Regions from separate parts of the Homo sapiens genome. Here regions 2, 3 and 4 are each linked to region 1. Evidence: promoter capture Hi-C in human tissues and cell types (Jung and others, 2019). All regions are on one chromosome and are shown on one strand. The core of a region is centred on a gene start or on the middle of the fragment in contact, and the rest is flanking DNA. Distances in the headings are between cores, read along the strand shown.

Region 1 (5,587 bases), core at 2,013-4,512:
ACATAACTCTCATAGATGAGCAAAGTACATCTCGTGGATGCTTCTGATTGTCTGTAAAGGCAGGCTCAATATTCACGTTCTGCAGAGATTACCAGGAACTTGCATAAAGCTGGAAAACACTTAATATTCTGAAATGTGGCCTTTATTGAGCATACTTCTCAGACAGCTTGTTAGTGAAATTAATGTCTGCCGATCATTAAAAGTAGGGGTTTCCCAACCTGGCTGCAACTTAGAGTCTCCTGGGGACTTTTGTAAACCATACATTTTAGGATCTCACACAAAGATATTTTGATTCAGTGATGTGAGGTCAGGTTCCAGGGGATTTGGTCACAGAGGTGTGGACCAAGGCTTGGGAATCTTCTTTTAAGGCCTTACTGACTTGAGTTAGAAGCACCTGCCAAATTCCTATGGGACTTCACTATCTGACTTTCAATATGCTGTATAATAACTTGAATTTTTAGATATATATTTTTCTCATCAAATGAAGATAAACTCTGTGCATAGGGATGGTATTTGATATCCTTTGTTATGTATTATTTTTGCACAAAAAAATTCATAAATTGAAAAATATCTTGCTGAAAATCCTTCTTCCCTCCCTCCCTTCCTCTCTTCCTTCCTTGCAAATAACAAGTGTTGGTATGTGTGTACATGGGTGCACATGTGTGTGCATGTATGCATGTACGTATTTGTGTTCGTGCATATGTATAAATGTGTGCATGCATGTGTAGATATATGTAAATGTGTGTATGCATGCATGAATTGTATATGTGTATGCATGTGCACACGTATGCATGTTGGCATCTGCATATATGTGTGCATATGTGTATGCATGTATGCATGAATATACATTTCTGCATATATGTGTGCACGCATGTATGCATATGTGTGTTTGTGTATATGTGTGCATATATATATTTATGTGCATATATGTGTTTTTTGGTGTGTATGTATACATGTGCATGTGTGTGCAAGCAGGTGTGGGTGTGTCCAAGCACACATACTCATGCAGTTACGTGATGGGAAGAACCGGCCATTTACCTGGATAAGGCGCACAGGGTTCTGCATGATGTCCTCTCCTCCAAAGAGATAGAGTCTTTGGTCTTTCACAGCGACTGCGGGGTGGAGCACCCCCACGGGCATGCTGGCCATACTCTCCCAGACATTGCAGATGCTGTCATACCTTTCCATGGAGCCCATGAGCTCCTGCCCTTCTCCAATCCCCCCGATGGAGAAGATGAAGTTCTTATGGGCAGTGCTTCTGTGGGAGTAGCGGGCCACCAGCATGGGCTCCCCCAGCCTCCACTGATTGAGTTTCAGGGAGAAGATGTAGACATTGTGACTGACCAGACTCCTCCCTGAGCTGACAGCCATGCCCCCCAGCACATAGATGCTGCGGTGCAAGGTGATGGCAGAGGCCTTGTACAGCCGTGTCGGGAGTTTGGCAAGGCTCTGCCATTGGCCGGTCTGTTTGCTGTACAGTAGGACGTCCCTGGTGGTCTGCTGGCTGTCCTTCCTTCCGCCCAAGAGGATGAGGAAATCTTGGTAAGAGTTTCTTGGAGGGACATGCAACAGGAGTTTGCAGTCTGGGACGGTGGTGCCACACAAAGAGAACATCTGTCTCTTGGCGGTCTCCAAGATGATCTGGCATGCAGGCGAGGACTGCAGGAGGGCATCGTTGGCGATGAAGTGGTGAAAGAAGGCTGGGTGGATGTACTGCAGCCTGACCTGCTTGAACAGTTCCTGCATGTATCGCTTCCGGGCCTGGAGGTCATGCTTGATCCAAACCATGAGGGCCTCAAACACCTTTTCCTCCTCCCCACAGAGCCCATCATCTCCGAGATAGTCCCTCAACTCCAAGGCACAGAGCTCCTTCAGGTCGGCCGATGCGGCCACCTCTGGGAAGGACGTCAGTGCCACCTCCCTGGCTTTCTTCTTGAGGGTCTCGCAGCTTAAGATTTCTGAGAGTCTGATCATACCCAGGCAGTTGCTGGGGGCCAACTGGCTCTGCAAGTACGAGGAGCAGGCCTCAAACAGCTTGGGGAACTGTAGCATGGAGGCGGCCTCCATCACGGGGAGGACATTGTCAGTGGCAATATGTGCCTCCCCCGTATACACGTAGGAGACGATCTGGTCCAGGGTTGGGGGGTCAATGCCTTTCAGCTGCACTTTGGCTTCACTCTTCTCCCGGAAGCTGCTGCAGAACATAGCCCTGAAGTAGGGGCTGCTGGAGGCCAGCACGTTGCGGTGGCAGGGGATCTCCCGGGCACCGGCACAGATGCTCACATCAGTCAGGATCCTGCTTTGCCTTAAGCTGTTGAGCTGCCTCAACAAGTCAGAAGAGAAGTCGTGGTCTTTGAAGAGCAGCCCATCTAGTGACTCCTCGTCCATCCTACAAAGAGGGAAGGAAGCCCCCAGAGTCAGCAAGAGTCAAACCTTTCTCAGCTGCATGTGCTGGAGGGTTCAGCTGTGGGGACTCCAAGACCAGTGCTCCTATTCCATTCCCCATGATGTTTGCGGATGTCACCATGGATATTGTGTAGGGAAGATTGGAAAGGAAGGCCACATACATCTCAGACCTGAGCCCTTTTGGGTTATGGTTATTTTCAAAAGTAATAGGCAAATAGTATCTTCAGCTAATCTGAGAGAAACAACCAAACAAACAAACTAAAGTTGTTGGAAGTTACTCTGTTATCAGAAGCTGAAATGTTAGTCTGAAGCAAGATAACAGTCCATGGATTTGACCAGCAGAAGTTCATGAGCCTTTTTCCAGATCGATGGCATATCTGTTATTGAGTAACAGATGTCTAAACCTCTCTTTCTGGGTGTCAATCATTCCCCAAGGATGATATTCTGGAGGTGTGGCCCTCTGGTCACTGGACAGAAATGAGGGAAGAAAATGGACCTTTGATGCATATATTTAAATATGACTTCATTGAGTCTTGTTTTAAAGATAGAATAAATAAAAGGAAAGACCAAACAATCCCCTGGTTTATTGGATGACACCTGGTTTTCTACTTGCAGAAGAAATAAGTATGAGGGACACTTACCTTGTTTTGCTGCGGTGACATCCACTGGTGCCTGGTCTGACTTATCCCCCCGGAGAGTTTCTACCTCTAGCTCCAAGGGAAACCATAAACCCCAGGCCTTTCTTTCAGTTGGCAAATGATTTGTCCTGGGAGATTTCTGGATTTGTTTATGCTGAAGGCACTTTCATAGTTTTCTAGAGCTTTGTGCAAGGACTGCTGGGCAGGGAGACAGTGTATACATTCCAGGGCTAAGAATAGTTGCATATGTACTTTCCACTGTTATGACATGTGACTTTCCAGTTGCCTTTTGCAGCAACCCGAGGGCCTGCAGGGCCGGCGCATGCCCACATGCCTCGTTTCCTTGGCAAGTGTTTACATCGGCAAAAATAGATCGGGAGGAGCGGCTTCTCTTAGAGAAGACTTTGCTGTCTGCTTGGAACCATCCCGAGTCCCCTGTCCTAAAAGTGCTTGGGAATTCTAGCCGTCTGTAAACAGGTTGCTGTGACCTGTGGAGAGTCACTGAAGATGGTTCTGGGCCACAGTGGAGGTGGCAGGTGGTCACAAGGGAAGCCGGAACATGAGCCTGTGGGTGCTATTCAATGGATCTCTATTTCCCACCATCTGCCTGGCGGGATCGCTGGGGAGAGCTGTGATTTCCTCCTCCAGGATCCTAGGTGATGAAATCCATGACAAAAGTTGTTGTTTTTTGTTGTTGTTGTTGTTGAGCATCCCAGGGTTTCCAGACTCCTGAAGGCCCAAACCTTTGTCAGGTCTCCTTACTCAGGAACCTCTGATTGACAGTGGTAAGGCCGAGCTCCTCCTGTCGCGTCTGCCTCTCCCAGACACGTGCTGATTGCTCTTCAGCTGGCTTTTTATAGTTCAGACTTCCTTTTCTGTCTTACTTTTCCATTTTGTCTTGTCTGGCAGCTTGAGCTAGAGGCAGGAGGCAAGGCATATTGCTTTAGGGAGAGAGAGAAAGAAGATGAAGGAGGATGAGGAGGAAGAAGAAGCAGGGACAGAGGGAGGGAGAGAGACGAGAGGAGGAAGAAGAGGAGGAGGAATAGGAGGAGGAGGAAAAGAAGCAGGAGGTAGAGAATCGGGGGAGGAATGATGATAGTGATGTGGTAGGAGGCAGCTTTCAATAACAATCAGAATCACGAGAGAGAGTGAGGGGGACCTCAGGTCTGTTCTGCCCCTGCCTTCAGGGAGGTCCATGATTGTCTTAGCCACAAAAGGCAGGGAAGCCTGACTTTGTCTCCTACTCAACGTCTTGCTCAACTAGTGCAATGGTCTTCCATGCATTTTTTTTTCTTTGCTCCTAGTACTTCTCTCTCCAATACATCCACCCTGTCTTCTCTGGAGCAGCCCCTGGGAAGGCAACTCAGAATTTGCCAGTCCCCAGCATCAGGCCCTTCAGTGGCTCCCCATGTCTGCAGGACTCCTTAGCCAGAATCGGACTGGTGTCCTGTCTGCTTCTGGAACCATGTCTACTGCCACTCATGTGTGGTAATCTAGCTCCATGAGACACTTACAGATCCTTGTATGCATCTGGTCACTGTTGGGGAAGCTGGGCTGGCCTGGCCTTTGGGACACCACAGGGCAGGGTGGAAGGAAGAGGGTTTCTCATTCACAGTTGCCGATCGTAGAGTGGATTATGCCCAAAAGAGTCCAGAAGGTCAAGGCCAGGGAAATGGATCCAAAACATGTTACTGGGGCCATGGGCCTGGAGGCCAGAATTAGGAGCAGGAGGCCTAAGCTAAGGGGGTCAGAGACCCATGGAGGCACAAGCAGGGAGCAGGTGAGAGGAGCTGTTCCTCCATATGTCCGAGTTGGTGAGCTGTGCTGGTGACATAATAAGTGAGTAGCCACATTCCTGAAAGAGCCCAGGGATCCTCTGATTCGTACTCTATCCCTTTCTATGAGCTCTTCCCCTCTGCTCACTCTATCATTTTCACTGTTTCTGTTCGTCTTCCAAAACTTGGTTTATGTATCACTTCTCTGCAAGTCTTTTTACCCCTCTCTAAGACACTTAACTTCACACTCCTCTGTGCAGTTTCCATTCTTCTACATGCCTCTAATGGCATGCCTCATACCTCACTGAGATTATGTTTACTTCCCTGTGTCTCTCTTATTAGAGTGGAAGTCTCTGGGCAGCAGGAATCTTGACTTCATTGTAGCTCTACTCCTAGCACCCAGCACAGGGCCTGGCTTATAGGGGGTGAATTTCATACACTTCCTGCATTGAGCTGGAACAGAATGGGGAATGGGGAAAGAGAGGGAGCTTTGCTGGGTGGACTTCACACCACTGTCTGCTGTGCCGGTTTTGCAGAGCTGCCATGTATGGCTTACTGCGTAGACTGCCCTGCAAATATGCTCTGGAGCAGCCCTGATTATCCACATAATCAAATCCAATAATGTGATGAAGTGAAAAGTAAAACACTTGTTTTATACTGCAGTGCAAGACTTAAGTTCAGGCTGGGAACTGAACTGAGGTCCTCCCAACGCCAAAGCTAGCATTCTTGTCCTTGACCTCGGAGTGAACATGAGGAAGAAATAACTTC
Region 2 (5,587 bases), core at 773-3,272, 120 kb before region 1:
AGCACAACAACCCAGGAAAAAGAAAATAAAAACCAAACCAACCACACCCACAGGGGGAAAATTCCCTCCTACTTCTAAGCCTAAAACCCAAACAGCTGCTACCTCCCAGGTTGACTGCTGACAAAAATACACAAGGGAGCTTTGGAGGGCAGGCAGGGAGAACAAAATAATAAACCAATTAGAAATAATAATGTGACAGTCATGGTTAAGCTGATTTGCTTTACTACCTTCATCATTAATATTTTGCTCATTAACTTTTTCTTTTTTGAGACAGAGTCTCGCACTGTCGCCCAGGCTGGAGTGCAATGGCGCCATCTCGCTCACTGCAACCTCCGCCTCCTGGATTCAAGCGATTCTCCTGCCTCAGCCTCCCGAGTAGCTGGGATTACAGGCGCCCACCACCACACCTGGATAATTTTTTTTTGTATTTTTAGTAGAGACGGGGTTTCACTATGTTGGCCAGGCTGGGCTCGAACTCCTGACCTCATGATCTGCTTGTCTTAGCCTCCCAAAGTGCTGGGATTACAGGCGTGAGCCAATGCACCCAGCCTTTTTTTTTTTTTCTCAAAATACGGTTTAAAATGGAAAGCAACAGATCCAGTCAGATTTTTTTTTTTTTTTTTTTTTTTTTACATGGAGTCTCACTCCTGTTGCCCAGGCTGGAGTGCAATGGCGCAATCTCAGCTCACTGCAATGTCTGCCTCCCGGGTTCAAGCGATTCTCCTGCCTCAGCCTCCCAAGTAGCTGGGATTACAGGCACCCGCCACCACGCCTGGCTAATTTTCTTGTATTTTTAGTAGAGACAGGATTTCATCATGTTGTCCAGGCTGGTCTCAAACTCCTGACCTCAGGTGATCCGCCCGCTTTGGCCTCCCAAAGTGCTGGGATTACAGGTGTGAGCCACCGCACCCGGCCAAAACAGGCAGTTTTAAGCTTTAGGTGGACATGGGACTGAATACTGTTATCACATGGGGGTGGAAGGGAACCACAGGCACAAAACACGGAGGTGCTTTAATTCATCCAGTTTTGTGGCCTCATCTGAGAATGCCTTGGGGGTCCCCCAGAGTCAGCTGAAGTAGGACAAGAGGGAGACAGTGAGAACAGTCAGAGATACAGGGTTTTGAAACAGTCCAAAGTGCTTTAGGGCTTGCTTCCTGCTGAATTCTCTCTTGCTAAGGCTGTTGCCAGGGCCAGCGTTGCCTGTGACATGTTCCCACGTATCCACAGGGTGGGCTCGGAAGGGGCCTGGTGTGAAATTTCACTTGAAGAGAATGGCTCTTTAACCGACTCACTGGGGTATTATGGCGGCCCCTGCCCATCCTGGCCAATCTCAGGGACATCCTAGTAGGACTCACTTAAGAACTTGAAGTACGTTGGGGAAGAAGGAGATTGAGGGGTCTGTTTTCTGCTTGCCTCAAAATTCTTAGGGTCCTAAAAAGTAATTTTTTGGGGAAACTACTTCAAGACAACCCAAAGAGATGATTCAACTTGGGAAAGAGCCTGGATGAGCCTTTAGGCACTTGAGACTTACCCGGACCACGTAGTTAAATCTTCTGGAATCCAGAATGGCAGTTGAGAAGTCCAGTCTGTTGAAAGCTTCCCCCAGGGTGCAATATCCATGGCGCTGAACATGAAAACAAAGGCACAGAAGTTACTCCTGCCATGCAGAGGTCACCCAAGTAAGAATGAGCCAGTTAGAACAACCCAACTGGATTTTGCCGAATGAGCTTGATGCCTGTCTTAGGTGACCTGGGGCACTGGCTTCTTTCCTGTACCCACAAGCCCTTGAGAGCCACCAAGATGGGTAACACAGCCAGCAGCTGCCTCAGTCAGCCCCTCACATGTCAAACACCCCCTTTTCGTGACTTGTACCATTTGGGACCTTGCTTATAATTTTTCCACATATTAGTCTGGAAAAATCATAAGTAATTGCTTATTAAGGAAAGACTGGGAGCAGGGTACGGGACATGGGAGGCCATGATGGTTGGTGACTGTAACGTACTCCTGGGAGGAGAATTAGACCTACCTGCACCAACTGTGTCACCACCTTGCCTTATACCAATAGTGCTTTTCTCACTGTGATCATCAGAAGTGTTTATAAGGTTTTGGGAGGAAGCAAAAGTTTTGATCTTTTAACCTATGAACACAGAGGGAATTGGGAGTATAAAGTCCCAGCTCTGCTCTGAGTATCTGGGTGGTCTTGGGAATATCAGTGACCCCCCTCTGGACCTCAAATCACAGAGGGGACTAGATGTTCACTGAGGTCCCTGACGGTCATAGAAATTCTTTCATATTGCCTGTATCCTAGTTATTTTAGCAAATGCCTGTGCAGAGAGAAAATATACATAAAAGGGCTTTATAAAGTACCATACAAATGTAGTTATTACAATGTCTTGTCCCCTCCCACATCACACTGAGCAGGCACTGAAAACTTCTACTATATTTAGTGATTAGCGCTTCCAGGACTGAAATTTAACTGAGTTGAAGTCCAAAGAGATCTTAGAACAAAAGGGAGACCTTGCCCTGAGGCAAAACCCAGGGCAATATAATAATATGGTTGAGATGGGCATGTCAATCTTTATAAAGCACTTTTACATACATAATCTCATTGAACGACTAGAGGGTCCACCTAGTGACTTTTGCTTCTTTCTCTCTCTGTTCTAAACTCTGATGGTTGGCTAAATAATAGACTAATAGCTGCCATCTCCCACATCCAAGAAGACTCTCATGATCCGAAGTAATTTCCCTCCCTACCATATCCCTCCCTGCGCTATCAGGAAGGGATAAGGTTCAGTATAACTTAGTAAATGAATGGGATGCTCACCTCTTTAGTACTTCCTTTGTGAACATAGATCCATTTTTCTTGGTGGAAATCTACAGAGACAAAAAGAATACACAGCTTTAACATCTGCAACATGCTCAAGATTTAAGACATTTCATTTCATTTATTCCAAAGTTTTAAAAGTTTTGACAAAAAAGATAAGGAGTCTACTGACAACTGAAGAAGTTTCAAGTGCTTAATTTCTGCAGTGTAGAAATACTGGGGCTATAAGTTGCTTTGTCTGAAGCACTCTAAATCTTTGAGAGCCAGATTTCATATACCAAAGCTCCAAACTACTATATTTTTTTTTCTAAAGCATTATGCCATAAGAAATTACAGGCCAGATGCAGTGGCTCATGCCTGAAATCCCAGCACTGTGGGAGGTTGAGGCAGGCGGATCACTAGAGGTCAGGAGTTCGAGACCAGCCTGGCCAACATGGTGAAACCCCGTCTCTTCTAAAAATTCAAAAATTAGCCAGGCGTGGTGGCAGGCACCTGTAATCCCAGCTACTTGGGAGGCTGAGGTAGGAGAATCACTTGAACCCGGGAGGCAGAGGTTGCAGTGAGCCAAGATTGTGCCACTGCACTCCAGCCTGGGCGACAGAGCGAGACTCCGTCCCCCCGCAAAAATGAAATTAGGCTTTGACAGACTGAGTTACATGCTGTGAACAGAGCGGGGTAGATCGCTTGAGCCCTGGAGTTTGAGACCAGCCTGGGCAACATGGCGAAACCCTGTCTCTACTAAAAACACAAAAATTAGCCGGGTATGGTGGCAGGTGCTTGTAATCCCAGCTACTCAGGAGGCTGAGGCACGAGAATCACTTAAACCCAAGAGGCGGAGGTTGCAGTGAGCTAAGATCATGCCACTGACTCCAGCCTGGGTGAGAGAGCAAGACTCTGTCTCAAAAAACAAAAACAAACAAACAAAAAACACCAAAAAAAAAAAAAACACCCCTAATACTCAAGTACAAGTTTATTTTAAATGCCAAACCTGAAACTTACATAAGTCCATGAAAATCAAACAGATAACATGAGGAAAACATGCATTACAGATAAAATAACCTGTAATTCCTGCTATTAATACCACTTTATATTCTCTGCTGATACTTATATATAGTATCTAGAAATGTTAATAAGATTTATACAAGGAAAGAGGGAGAAAAATCTGTTTTCAAAGCCTCAAAACAGTTCAAAATAAAAGTACATACTGGAACTGATTCAGCTGACCACATCACTGTAAAATAACCTATGTCAAATACGAATGACTAGCAGGAAAAAAAGGCCCTCAACTAGCAACTGACTTACAAACAAGACTATAAAGAACATGTTAATCTTGCTTGTAAAATGCACAGCCAGGTTTCTGAGTGCTGAGATCTCAGTAACCTCTGTCAGTGACACACAGTAAAACACTGAGGCAGATGTGTGACATGGGAGGTGTTATTTTTTTTCATCCAAGAACCAATCATAACTATCTTCAAACAGCTTTTTTCTGAAGTTCAAAACAAATGGCTTACACTGAGTTTTGGTTTTGCTATTCAGCATGTCCTTCTTTCTCTTCTTGGCTGCAACATCATAGTTCAGGCTGTTGAAAAGATTCTCCTTATTGTATACCTCCTTGTTGCAGTAACTATGAATAACAGAAGACAAAGAGGATGAGCTGTAACAGCTATACATGAACCTGAGCTGTTTCTATAAATAACTCACTGAGTTATAAGACAAACAAACATACAGGCTTCTCAAACAAAATAAAACAATAAAATGATCACTCAAAGAAAAAAGAGTCTATACAGTCACAGGCTTCTCCTTTAGGATGAAACATGTTCACATCTGTGGGGAAGGCAGGGATGGGAGCTTCTACTTCTTTTGAATTCCCTAACAGTGCCTTGCATTGTAATTTGACACACAGCACTGTACTCTTCAACTAAGAGCAATGCAGAGTATTACCATATTACTTTAAACAAAAATGACGAATGGGGGGAGGGGTGATTACTGGTATCGCTGTACTACACAATGCCTTCATTTTGCAAAAGTATCTACCCCAAGCTGCTGCTGCTTCTTTAGAAAAAAAAAAAGTTTCATTGAGATAAACTTCACATACCATACAATTCATCCATTTAAAGTATACTTAAGCTGCTTTTAAGTAGCATCCTTCTAACATGTCTTTAAAACACAATCACGTTTACAAAAATCTGACTTATAAACTCCATTTCTAGGAGATGCTTTGGGTGTAGTGCCAGTTGCTTAGGTTTTATGTAGTGCCTTGACTAAAACACACTAGGCATCATGCTGTGAGGTGAAGACCTTGGGTCTTGACTATACAAGGTAAACTTATAATTGATAAATTTATAAGGGCTGAACAGACATTGGATGTACCTGCCTAATTCACAGGTCACTGAAGGATGGGCAGGCTCATCTCGGGCCAGACGCTTATTTGCCTCAGTGGGCTGAGCAATCATTTGAGGGGTAATGAACTATTCTACTATACAATGTAACTTCAAAGTAAATCTCTGAATAATTTCCACAGAAGGAATGCAGGAGAAATACTGAGGTATGATAAGATAGGTTCCCTAACTCCCTCAACCCCCACAAAGTATGTAAAACAGGATTTATAATGCCAACTGGTAAAACATAAATTAGGGGTTTTTTTTTTTTTGCTATACCACCGATATTTTATACTCCTTTAATGTTCTGAGTTTCTCTGCTGAATTTAAAATGTAACTTGATTTACATCTTTTTCAGATATACATCTGTTGGGTACAATTATGT
Region 3 (5,587 bases), core at 2,146-4,645, 100 kb before region 1:
ACCCAGAATAGATCTTAGAGGTGACCTAGTCCAATCCTCCTTTACCCATGAGAAAGCTAAGGCTCACAGAAGAGAGACTCACTGAGGTACACAGAGCTACCTGGTAGCAGCAGAATTGGGCACCATGAGACCAAACCAGCAGGGACAGAATATTCCATTACACTTACTGTTCTGACCAATGTCCCTGAGAAATGTAATTTTGAAGTAAAATTCAAATAATCTGATTTACACATTCCAGTAACTGAATTTTTTCAGGACTTCTCATCTAATGAGTTTAGTCCAAAGAACACAAGAAAAACAATAACAGGTACTTAAGCCCCGAAAGCGATTACTCTTCAAAGTCAACCAGAATCCTAGAGAAACAACAGATTTGAAAATCAGGCACCCTGGAAGTCCTTACCTGACCACCAGATTAAATGCAGATCTGCTGCTGCTTATTCTGGGACACGTTTGTTTCATCACTGCATGTTTTGACTGGTTGACTCTAGTGATTGGAGAAGCGTTTTCTGAGTCATTTAAGTGTGTTTCCTTGTATGAGTCAGCTCTTGATTTGTTGAATTCTGGAGAAGTCATGTAACCTGTTTGGTGTTCTGTTTTCACATTTATACACACACACATTATAAAGATGGTTGTGGTTGTATGGTTCTTATTTTTTTGAGACAGAGTCTTGCTCTGTCACCCAGGCTAGAGAGCAGTGGTGCGATCTTTGTTCACCGCAACCTCTGCCTCCTGGGCTCAAGTGATCTTCCCACCTCAGCCTCCCAAGTAGCTGGGACTACAGGTGTGCACCACCATGTCCAGTTAATTTTTTTTTCTTTTTTTTTTTTTTGTAGAGACAGGGTTTTGCCATGATGCCCAGGCTGGTCTCGAACTCTTCCGCTCAAGCGATCTGCCCAACTGTGCCTCCCAAAGTGCTGGGATTACAGGCGTAAGCCACCATGCCCAGCCATGTTGTATGGATCTTTGACATTATTGATTGAAGGATGATCATTAACAGCAATGACAATTTTTCATAAGGAAATAGAAAAACACAATTCCTCCTATCCTTTTTCTGGGGTGGTTTGTCTATTTCTGCCTGTTGTGTCTACAATTTTTTCACAGAAAGCAAAAGTCTGCAGTTGTAGTCTGCTCAACTTTTCACCTCTCCAGTTTTTTCCAAGTGATACTCCCAGTTCTAGAGCAATCTATAGCTGTTTATATGAGGTGCCCAACACCCACTCATCTCAAGTACTTCAGTCTTTGGTTTATTTCATGCACTGTGCCTTCAAAATTAATATTTTTTTTTGAGACAGAGTCTCGCTCTGTTGCCCACACTGGAGTGCAGTGATGCGGTCTTGGCTCACTGCAACCTCCACCTCCTGGGTGCAAGTGATTCTCCTGCCTCAGCCTCCTGAGTAGCTGGGATTACAGGCATGCATCACCACGCCCAGCAAATTTTTGTATTTTTAGTGGAGATGGGGTTTCACTGCGTTGGCCAGGCTGGTTTTGAACTCCTGATCTCAAGTGATCTGCCTGCCTCGGCCTCTCAAAGTGCTGGGATTACAGGCATGAGCCACCGTGCCTGGCCTCAAAATGAATTTTTTTTTTTTGAGACCAAGTCTTGCCCTGTTGCCCAGGCTGGAGCGCAATGCCATGATCTTGGCTCACTGCAACCTCCGCCTCCCAGGTTCAAGCGATTCTCCTGCCTCAACCTCCCGAGTAGCTGGGATTACAGTTGTGCGCCACCACGCCTAGCTAATTTTTTTGTATCTTTTTTTTTTTTTTTTTTTGAGACAGAGTCTTGCTCTGTCGCCCAGGCTGGAGTGCAGTGGTGCGATCTCGGCTCACTGCAAGTTCCGCCTCCCGGGTTCACGCCATTCTCCTGCCTCAGCCTCCCGAGTAGCTGGGACTATAGGCGCCTGCAACCACGCCCAGCTAATTTTTTGTATTTTTAGTAGAGATGGGGTTTCACCGTGTTAGCCAGGATGGTCTCGATCTCCTGACCTTGTGATCCGCCTGCATCAACCTCCTAAAGTACTGGGTTTACAGGCGTGAGCCACCGTGCCCGGCCAATTTTTTTGTATCTTTAGCAGAGACGGGGTTTCACCATGTTGGCCAGGGTGGTCTCGAATTCCTGACCTCGTGATCCACCCGCCTAGGCCTCCCAAAGTGCTGGGACTACAGGCATGAGCCACGGTACCCAGCAAAAATGAAATTTTTAAAAGGGACTTTATTATTATTTTATTATTATACTTTAAGTTCTGGGATACATGTGCAGAATGTGCAGGTTTGTTACATAGGTATACACGTACCATGGTGGTTTGCTGCACCCATCATCCTGTTATCTACATTAGGTATTTCTCCTAATGCTATCCTTAAAAGGGACTTTAAATGAAGTTGAATAGTAGTTTTTAAAAGTCAATGTGTAATTTATGTGAAATCTAACAGTAATGAGGTCCTTTCTGTTTTTTGTATGTAAACAGATCTACTAATCCTGTATAAAGGTTATTTTATGAAAAAAAAAAACAAAAAAACAAAAAAAAAAACCTGATTCCTGGCACATAGGAGATTTCAGTGTGTGTCAACTGTGGCCCATCAACTGCAAGCCGTCTTACTGCTTCTCTCAGGCGATTCAATAAGAATAAAAAGCAAATGAATCCTTGATTTCTTTTAAATACTGCATTCATTTCAGGAAGAAGAAAGTGATTTAAAAAGAAGTACAGAATGTTCATCTTCTCTTTCATTCCAACTACAGCCTGAGAAGTTCAGTCCCTTAAGGGACATAATATTTTCAACCACGGTTGATAGTAATTTAATAAATAATTTAGTATTTTAAACATCTGCTTTGCTAAAAGTGGTATGCCATAAAACCTCTGCTAATGTCTTGAAACTGTGTATATTTTGAAGAGATGGTGCATGTCTTAGATTTTTTCCCCTCCTCTATCAGCTAAGCAATAGGAATGCCTATCTTTAGTTCTGTTTTAGAGCATTTTTGGGGTGGTAAAATATATTACAAATTATTACTCATTCATTGTCTCAACAGGGATGCATCATGCCATTGCTATGATCCTGGTGCTCTTCTAAAGCAGCTTTGAGAACACAAAGATGAACACTTACCCTTAGCGAGTGTACAGGCTGTAAGGAGAGAGAGAGACATTAATATGTATACCTAAAGCCGAGCCTATGTGCAGTGAAGGGGGTGGAGAAAAGAGGGAGGTAGGGAGGTGGGGGGAGGGGGGGGAGAGAGAGAGAGAGAGAAAGAGATACAGGGCACCATTAGAGCACTTAGGAGGATAAAGCACCTAATCAGCCTGGAATAGTCAGAGGAAGCTTCGTGGAGTTGGTCTCAAACCAGGTCTTAAAGGACGGGTAGGAATTAATCAAGCAAATGGAGGTAAGGATGGGAGTGGGTGGGCATTCCGGGGAGAGGAGACAGTAGGAACAATGGCGGAGAGGAGAGGAGCAGCATATGACATGGTGAAGAATAGGATGTGGAGCAGGGCATGAGGATAGCTGGTGATGGGGAAATAGGCCAGGGTGAGATTGCAGAGGGCTCCATGTGCCTTACTGGAAAGCCTGGGCTTTGTCTGAAATGATGGGAGCCATGGAAGAGCTGTAAGCAGGAGACCACCAATGGGCAGATAGTGCTGTAGGGAGATTCTCTTGCCGAGTAGAGAGATGGATAGAAGAAATACGTGACAGGGGGCAAGAGACCAGTTAGGAGGATGTGGCTGTTTCCAGGCAACAGTTGATGAGCAGCAGAACTGGGAGTGCCATGGAGAGCTGGGACAGACTCATGCCACACCTAAGAGGCAAACACTGCAGGACACCCTGAATGCCTCCTTGCAAGGGATGAGGAAAGGGAAGTGCCAAGCAGGGCCTTTCAAGATTCTGGTTTAGGTACATCATTCTGAGCAAACTATTGCGAGGACAAAAAACCAAACACCGCATGTTCTCACTCATAGGTGGGAATTGAACAATGAGAACACTTAGACACAGGAAGGGGAACATCACACCCCAGGGCCTGTCATGGGGTGGGGGAAGGGGGGAGGGATAGCATTAGGAGATATACCTAATGTAAATGACGAGTTGATGGGTGCAGCACATCAACATGGCACATATATACATATGTAACAAACCTGCACATTGTGCACATGTACCCTAGAACTTAAAGTGTAATAAAAAAATAAAGCAAACAAAAAAGAAAAAAATAAGATTCTGGTTTAGGTAAAAGAAGAAATAAATGGTTGAGTGGAAGCTTGAGGACTGCAGTCTCATTGTTCTGAGAGAGACTTCACTTTCACTGACTTTCGGGCAGAGAACAGAACAAATTCTGTGCTTCCTCTGCCCCTGGGGAGATTGCCTGTGTTGCTGGAAGGACTTCTTCCTAATTGCCCAGACCTGCCCAGAAGAAGAGGCAGGAACTGTATTTGGAACAACATTCAGAAGGGATCTGTTCTTGTTACCTTCACCTTTCTGACCCATCTTGAATAAGATGGTCTTTCTCTGCCAGTGGTTACAGCACTCCTGTACATGTTCCATTTTCAAATGCCTTAAAAATGTTATGAATATATATATCGTGCTAGTTCTCTCTATAAAGTAGTTATAATAAACTTTATTTCAACCAAACAAACAAATAATGAAATTACCTAAAATCAGTAAGTCAATGAATTCATGGTAAAAATTTATCTTATTTTTTTTGCCATCTGGTTAGAACCCATTTTCTGCTAGCCCCCTCATTTTTAGGGGATACTTCACTGTGTGCAGCCTTGGTGGGAGGTCATGCTCACTTCCAAAAACGGGACCTAAAAAGACCTGATCTTTTCACTCTCTGCTGTGGTCCAGCCAGGGTCAGGTATGTGACTTAAAGGTTTGGCGAATGACACATTCTTCTGGGGGAGTGAAGGAAGGAGGTTGGGGGTTCTCTGTTGGGAGGGCATTCCTGCCAGCATCAGTGAGGGGTGTTGGCCACAAATGGTTCCTGTTGTGGGGGCTTTGCTGTGGTTCCTGCTGCCTGGTCCTCCAGAGCTTTCTCAATTCCTGCATTTTTCAAGTCTGTGTCTTCAGCCTCTTGCTGATACTATGTACCCAAATAGTCTTTTAATAAAATCTTTGCCCGAGCCAGAGTTGGTTTCTGTTGCTTGCAAACTGGTCCTGACAGTGTAGACCTTCCATGCAGGAGAGGTATCCAGAGACAGGGTCACACACACTCACCCTATCCTTCACCCATTACTCCCCAGAGCCCCTCCAATCTTACGTGCTTATGCGTGTACTGGGGCCAAGGGTTGAATTAGACTAGAAAGAATGATTTGTATTGGGACTTACCAAAAGAAATCAACTGCTGAGAAAACTGGACTGAAGCCCAGAGAAAGGATTTTGTGTTGCACAAAACTGGCAGATTTAGAAATATTGAGACAGAAAAGAATGTTGAAATATCCCTCTGTGACAGTCAAAGATGAGGCATTGAAAAGCTCAGAACTGTAGATTTCGCTTTTAAAACCATGGCAAGAGTATCATCACCACAGCAAGGGCGAGCCCAGAGAAAGTGCATTTGGTGAGATTTTATAAATGTACCCAAGGCACGTGTTTTGTTGCAAACGATTTTCTA
Region 4 (5,587 bases), core at 1,234-3,733, 73 kb after region 1:
GTATTAATGTCAGAGTCAGTGGCAGTAGTAGGGACAGAAGAATGGAACAGGAAACTTATCTGGATAGAAATCTTGAGCTGAGAATAGTGTCAAGCTTTCCAAAATGATGAAGCAGAGAGAATGAAAAGAGGAACAGTAAATTTAACCAAGGTGTCTGGGAGGGCTCAATCAGACCTCAGTTGGAGAAATAACAGGAATCACAAATGAAAGTGAAGTCCTAAGACCTTCGGGTGTGAAACAGTTTGAGCTAAATAGAGTTTGGGGCTCTTAGAATTTAATACCAAATGGAGAAAATAATGGACTCTGAGGAAAGTGACCTTGCCAAGATATAGATTAGTAGCCTTTCAACCCGGATTGCACTCAAAATCATTTGGGATCCCAGTCTGATCCTATGAAATCAGAATCTCTGAGGTACAGGGATATATCAGGTATAAATATTTCTAAAACTCCCCAGACAATTCTAACAAGCAGCCAGGGTTGAGAACCGTTAGTCTGAGAAAAATTAGAAACTTCCGCTGTTGATATCCCGGTAAAGGAGGAAGACAACTTAGAAATGTGCTGAAGGTTTACACAAGAAAGAAATCCTTGACCTTATCCAAGATGCTAAAGATAAAGGGAAGAGGTTTAGCATGAAATCTTAAAGTGAAAATTGAACCCAGGTTTTTCCAAATGGGTGACATGGAACACTGAAAGCATTAAAGCCATTGGACCTCCAGCTAGGAAAGGAACTCCTTTTAAAATTCTCTCCCAACTCTTCTGATTAAGTCTTTGCTTAGTGATAGTGGATCTTTCACACTCGTCTAATCCAGGGGTTGGCAAACTGCAGACTGAGGACCATATCTGGCCCATTACTTATTTTTGTAAATAAAGTTTTATTGGAACACAGCCAACCCATTCATTTACATTTGGCCTATGGCTTCTTTCACGCTACAATGGCAGAGTAGTTACCTACTTGCACCAGAGGTTCTGTGGCCCACAAAGCCTCATTATTTACTTTGTGGACTCCCACTGTATCCCATGTGGACCATGTAAACAGGTCCTTTTTTAGTCAGAGGATAGGACCTTACCCTTCAGCTGGCAACATCAAATTTAGTTAGAATTTAATACATTCTTTTTGCTTTCATTTAGTTATCTATATTTATGTCAACTGACATTAATTTTCCATTTATGGTATCAGTATAAAATTTCCTTTTAAGATTAATTTATATTAAAAAGTGCGTATTTAAAAATAATTAATAGAATAATTAGTAGAAGAGGTAACCCATATATTTGGCAACAATCATGAAGGTTGTACTTAAATCTGAAGTTTGGGAGACATTGAATGTATCCAATCCCATCATTTACAAATAAAGAAACTGAAGCCTGGTTGTTAAGTCACCTGCTCAGGGTCACCTTATGGAAACATCCATCTCCTATCTCTCTCAGAACAATGTTCTTTTACCTCTAACCGGTTACTCATTTGCACTTTGAAGCCAGTTAGTATGAATGCAAATTATTGTACTTTTAACATTCATGAATTCAGAGCCAGAAAATATCCTGGTGACATTTCCACAGACATGGTTAGTAGAGATTGATGAGCAATTTGAAACAAAATAGAGGGGCCATTCACATCTGAAGCATGAATCTTGGGTGATTAGTGACATATTGGTTTCATTAAGTCATAAAACTACCCAACAGAAAAAAATATATTTGGCAGTATACCCTGTTGGGTATATTTAAGCACAGTTTGAATACGAATATTTGGTATTTCATCATGTAGTTATTGCTGTTTTCATTAGGATTCTCCAGGATCTCACACCGACTAAAAGCAAGCCAATTCCTTCATGCCTAGAACCTCTTCCCACATTAGAAGTTTATTAATCTGCGGGGGTTGATCAGAGAGCTGTTGGGAAAGTGTGTTAGGAAACTTGAGCTCTGCCCACCTTAGTAGGGTGCTGGAATGTTACAGAGTTGTTCATTGCTGTTGATACCTCCTTTCCAAGATGCAGTATTACAGTGACTTACATGATGACTAAGTGTTTGGCTATCACTCTAAAGGGGCAGAAATATTTGTATCATTTAACAACTAAAACTAAAACTAGAAAAACATCCATTTGGATCACAGCTCAACATGATTTGCTTGCATATGTTGACTGTATGTTCTGAAAAATGAGTTCAGTTCTTTAGATTAAAACATGACCTTTCTATTACATTTGGGATTGCTTCCATGTTGGCATTTCAGCACCTTTTAATGAAGATTGGTATAGTTAGGTCATTTTCCAGAAAGACAAGCTTCCTTAGGCTATGCCATCTGGGTTACACGTGTTGATGTGATATTTACTTATCAAAGGTGACTGCAGGGCTGGGTAGGAGTTAGGAGACCTGACTTGAAGGCCCTTCAATATGCTGTGCCTTAAACTGGTGGGCACCATTGTACCTGAAGGTACTGATGGTATCCTCAGGAGTGTAAACAATGTGGGCATCCTGCCATGCACTGAGCTGTGGTATAGGGAGTCCAAGTGGGGTAGCCCTTTTGGGGGCTACACCCAAACAGAGGAGAGGTGAGCCAATCAGCTCCTGAAGGTTCCAGCCTGTGTCTTTCCAGGGGAGCACTGCTCATCTAGGCAGGAAATCCAGCAGCCCAGCAGCCTTTTTACTGAGGGTTTCTGCAGTGAAACCCTTCTCACTCTGGTATAAGAACTACTATTTGATCCAGCAATCTCACTACTGGGTATCTACCTAGAGGAAAAGGAGTCATTATATGAAAAAGATACTTGCACATGCATATTAATAGCAGCACAATTTGCGATTGTAAAAGTGTGGAACCAACCCAAATGCCCATCAATCAATGAGTGGATAAAGAAGCTGTGGTATATATATACAATAGACTACTACTCATCCATAAAAAGGAATGAATTAATGGCATTTGCAGCAACCTGGATGGGATCGGAGAATACTATTCTAAGTGAAGTAACTCAGGAACAGAAAACCAAACATCATATGTTCTCACTCATAAGTGGGAGCTAAGCTATGAGGACGGAAAGGCATAAGAATGATACAATGGATTTTTGGGACTTGGGGGAAAGGGTGGGAGAGGGTAAGGAATAAAAAACTACAAATAGGGTTCAGTGTATACTGCTCGGGTGATGGGTGCACCAAAATCTCACAAATGACCACTGAAGAACTTACTCATGTAACCAAATACCACCTGTTCCCCCAAAACCTACAGAAATAAAGAATTTTTAAAAAAGAAGAAGTTGTTACTCATGGGCTAACAGTTTTGAGAAAAACTGCTGCCTCTTGGCTGCTGCTGTCATCAACAGGAGGATAAGGGTCAATCTTCAGGAGAAGCTGACTTTTCTCTGTTATAAGAGAAGAAATCAGTGTAGGGACATGCCTGGGCCAGAAGGGCAGGAATGGTGATTTCTGGTGGAGATCCAGTGACATAAAGACATTCTGAGGACATCTGCCCTGGAGCCTTGTTTTCCCATTTAAGCGGTGGTTCTCAATAAACCAGGAGCGATTTTTGTCTCCCAGGAGACAATTGGCAATGTCTGGAGACATTTTCAGTTGGCACGAGTAGGGGAGTATTACTGGAATATCTAGTGATAGAGGCCAGGATTCTGCTAAACATCCTTCAGTAATGCACAGAACAGACAGCCCCCCTCCCCCCGCCCACACACACACAAATAATTACCTGGTCCCAAATGTCAGCAGTGCCAAGGACGAATGTGCCAAGGGTCCACAACCCTGGCTGAATGGTTGTAACGATTCTGTCAACGGGTCTCTTTAAAAAGTGTGGAGAAGGCCAAGCCTCTGGTGGTAAACGGCACACAGGTGCTGACTAAAGCAAGGCCTCCAGTCACCAAGGGCAAATTGCTGTGGTAACTTAAAAGGGAAGAATAGAAATGGACCATGATGTCTTACATTCTTTAATTTTTTTGCAAAGAAACCCAGATGACAAATCTGAAAGATGAGTGCTGAGATAAGGTAACTAGGAGGAAGGTGTGAGCTGAGATCAGTTCAAAGTGAGAAACCTGTTGTCACCTCCTGCTTCTTTGTCTGCATCAAGATTGTTGTGAACATCCCAGCCTATACCGGCAGGGCAACGTGCCCAAGTGACATCTCTCTGTTGACTCATTCTTAGGGGCCCTTGAGTGCTGTGTTGGGCTGGAGAACTTGGAGTTTCTAGTAGAGGCAGAATAACATTCATTATGTGGAAACAAGATTTTGTGTCCTGGGGAAAATGACTGTCTGCTTTGAGGTTGTCCACAGATTGTTTGGGGAGTTGGAGACCTCTGAAGAGTGCTAAACTTCCAGATATCCAATTACCACTGTATTGCATCAACAAAAGAGAACTTGGAGGATAAAGTGGTTGTGTGGAGATGATGGATATTTCTCAACCGTGAAAGGAACCATGCTTTCAGGAGTTATGAAAAATGAAGCACGTTTCTCATTAGAAAAGAATGATCCATTTCCTTCTTATATTGCCAAAGGTCGTCTTTTGCCAATTCAATGAGAGTATGAACATGGGATTCATTACTTGCAGGAAAAAAGGTAGCAAGTGTACTCTGGAATCCTCAAGAGTCAATGATAAGTGGGCAGATGGAATTGAAAAGTGAGAATATTGGGGGCTGAGCGGGGCCTTCATGGCATCAAATGTGCTGTGTAGCAGGATGCAGTCAACAGTATGTGGACAAGTTCTGATTTGCTGAAAAGGAAACAAGGTAAAATAGCTAAATTTGCTTTGAGCAAATTTCTGTCTCAATCAGTATCAAAACAATGAATGTTATTCTTTCCCTTGGTAGAAGAGTTTATGCATTGGATCCAAAAAAATTAATTCTTTTAGTTAATTAATTAATTTTTAGTCTATTATTTCTTTAAAATTATCTTTAACATTTTATCTTCCTTTTCATTCCTACTACAACCATCCAAGTCCCCATTATTTGGAAAGAGAATTATTTTCTCCCTTTCTATCTGATTTTCAAGTTTGCATCCTCCTTCTATTTCAGTCCATCTAGTAGTATTAGTATCAGTAGTGGTAGTAGTAATAGCAGTAGTATATTAATAAATATAATAGTTATAAGAAAGCGGTGATGATAAAGATAAGGCCAACCTTACTTACTATGATTATTCACAGGGTAGGTCCATGACCCAAGCCAACTGGAATTCTTCCCTGACATCTTACAGATACTTAGAGAAAGAAGAGATTTTCCTTGAGGCTGCTAATCTGGAGCTATGTGAGGCCATGGAGTTCTCTTGGTGCCTGAACTATCTATGGCCATGCCTCCCTCTCACCAGCCCCTTTTGCTTCCCATACGAGGAAAACAAAAAGCTTATTTTCAGTAGGAGAGAAAGAGGCCAACACATAGAAAGAAGAGAGAGAGAACTGAGAAGATGATTTGTTCAGCCTCAGGGATGAATTATGATTCAAGGCTCTCCTCTTCCTCTTTGCCAGTCTTGGGTTGGGCTTTTGACCAGTTCTGGCCAGTGAGATAGAAAGGGATGTCTGCTGCTTGGAGCTTTGCAGAAAGATTTTCCTCCCTGATAGGGGAGATGTACATAAGCAAGAAGGTATTTTTTCCCTCTATCTGCTTCCTTCTTGCTT

Evidence for each region. The method cuts DNA at HindIII sites, captures the fragments that hold promoters and counts their contacts. A contact is called where the count stands out against the background at its distance.
Region 2: a fragment that was not itself captured here is called in contact with the fragment with the promoter of KLHL38 in region 1 in 3 of the 25 tissues and cell types used here (bladder, heart left ventricle and heart right ventricle).
Region 3: a fragment that was not itself captured here is called in contact with the fragment with the promoter of KLHL38 in region 1 in 2 of the 25 tissues and cell types used here (IMR-90 fibroblasts and mesenchymal stem cells).
Region 4: a fragment that was not itself captured here is called in contact with the fragment with the promoter of KLHL38 in region 1 in 5 of the 25 tissues and cell types used here (H1 embryonic stem cells, adrenal gland, heart right ventricle and 2 more).

Annotation. Positions count from the first base shown.
Region 1 is chr8:123,650,539-123,656,125 of GRCh38, forward strand. KLHL38 (kelch like family member 38) reads right to left here and starts at 3,263. Exons shown (of 4, transcript NM_001081675.3): 1 at 3,048-3,263; 2 at 1,039-2,389. The coding sequence starts at 2,388. The HindIII fragment of the contact is 9,515 bases long and covers 1-5,587 here.
Region 2 is chr8:123,530,367-123,535,953 of GRCh38, forward strand. It overlaps FBXO32 (F-box protein 32), which reads right to left. Exons shown (of 9, transcript NM_058229.4): 2 at 4,336-4,448; 3 at 2,825-2,874; 4 at 1,532-1,624. Among named protein-coding and RNA genes, the nearest start is that of FBXO32, 8.0 kb to the right of the region's middle. RefSeq lists an enhancer at 1-159. The HindIII fragment of the contact is 5,305 bases long and covers 1-4,675 here.
Region 3 is chr8:123,547,928-123,553,514 of GRCh38, forward strand. No RefSeq gene overlaps it. Among named protein-coding and RNA genes, the nearest start is that of FBXO32, 9.5 kb to the left of the region's middle. The HindIII fragment of the contact is 3,908 bases long and covers 1,442-5,349 here.
Region 4 is chr8:123,723,993-123,729,579 of GRCh38, forward strand. The region is part of intron 1 of ANXA13 (annexin A13); the gene reads right to left. All of the region lies in intron 1 of LOC105375739 (a long non-coding RNA gene), which reads left to right. Among named protein-coding and RNA genes, the nearest start is that of ANXA13, 11 kb to the right of the region's middle. The HindIII fragment of the contact is 8,461 bases long and covers 1-5,587 here.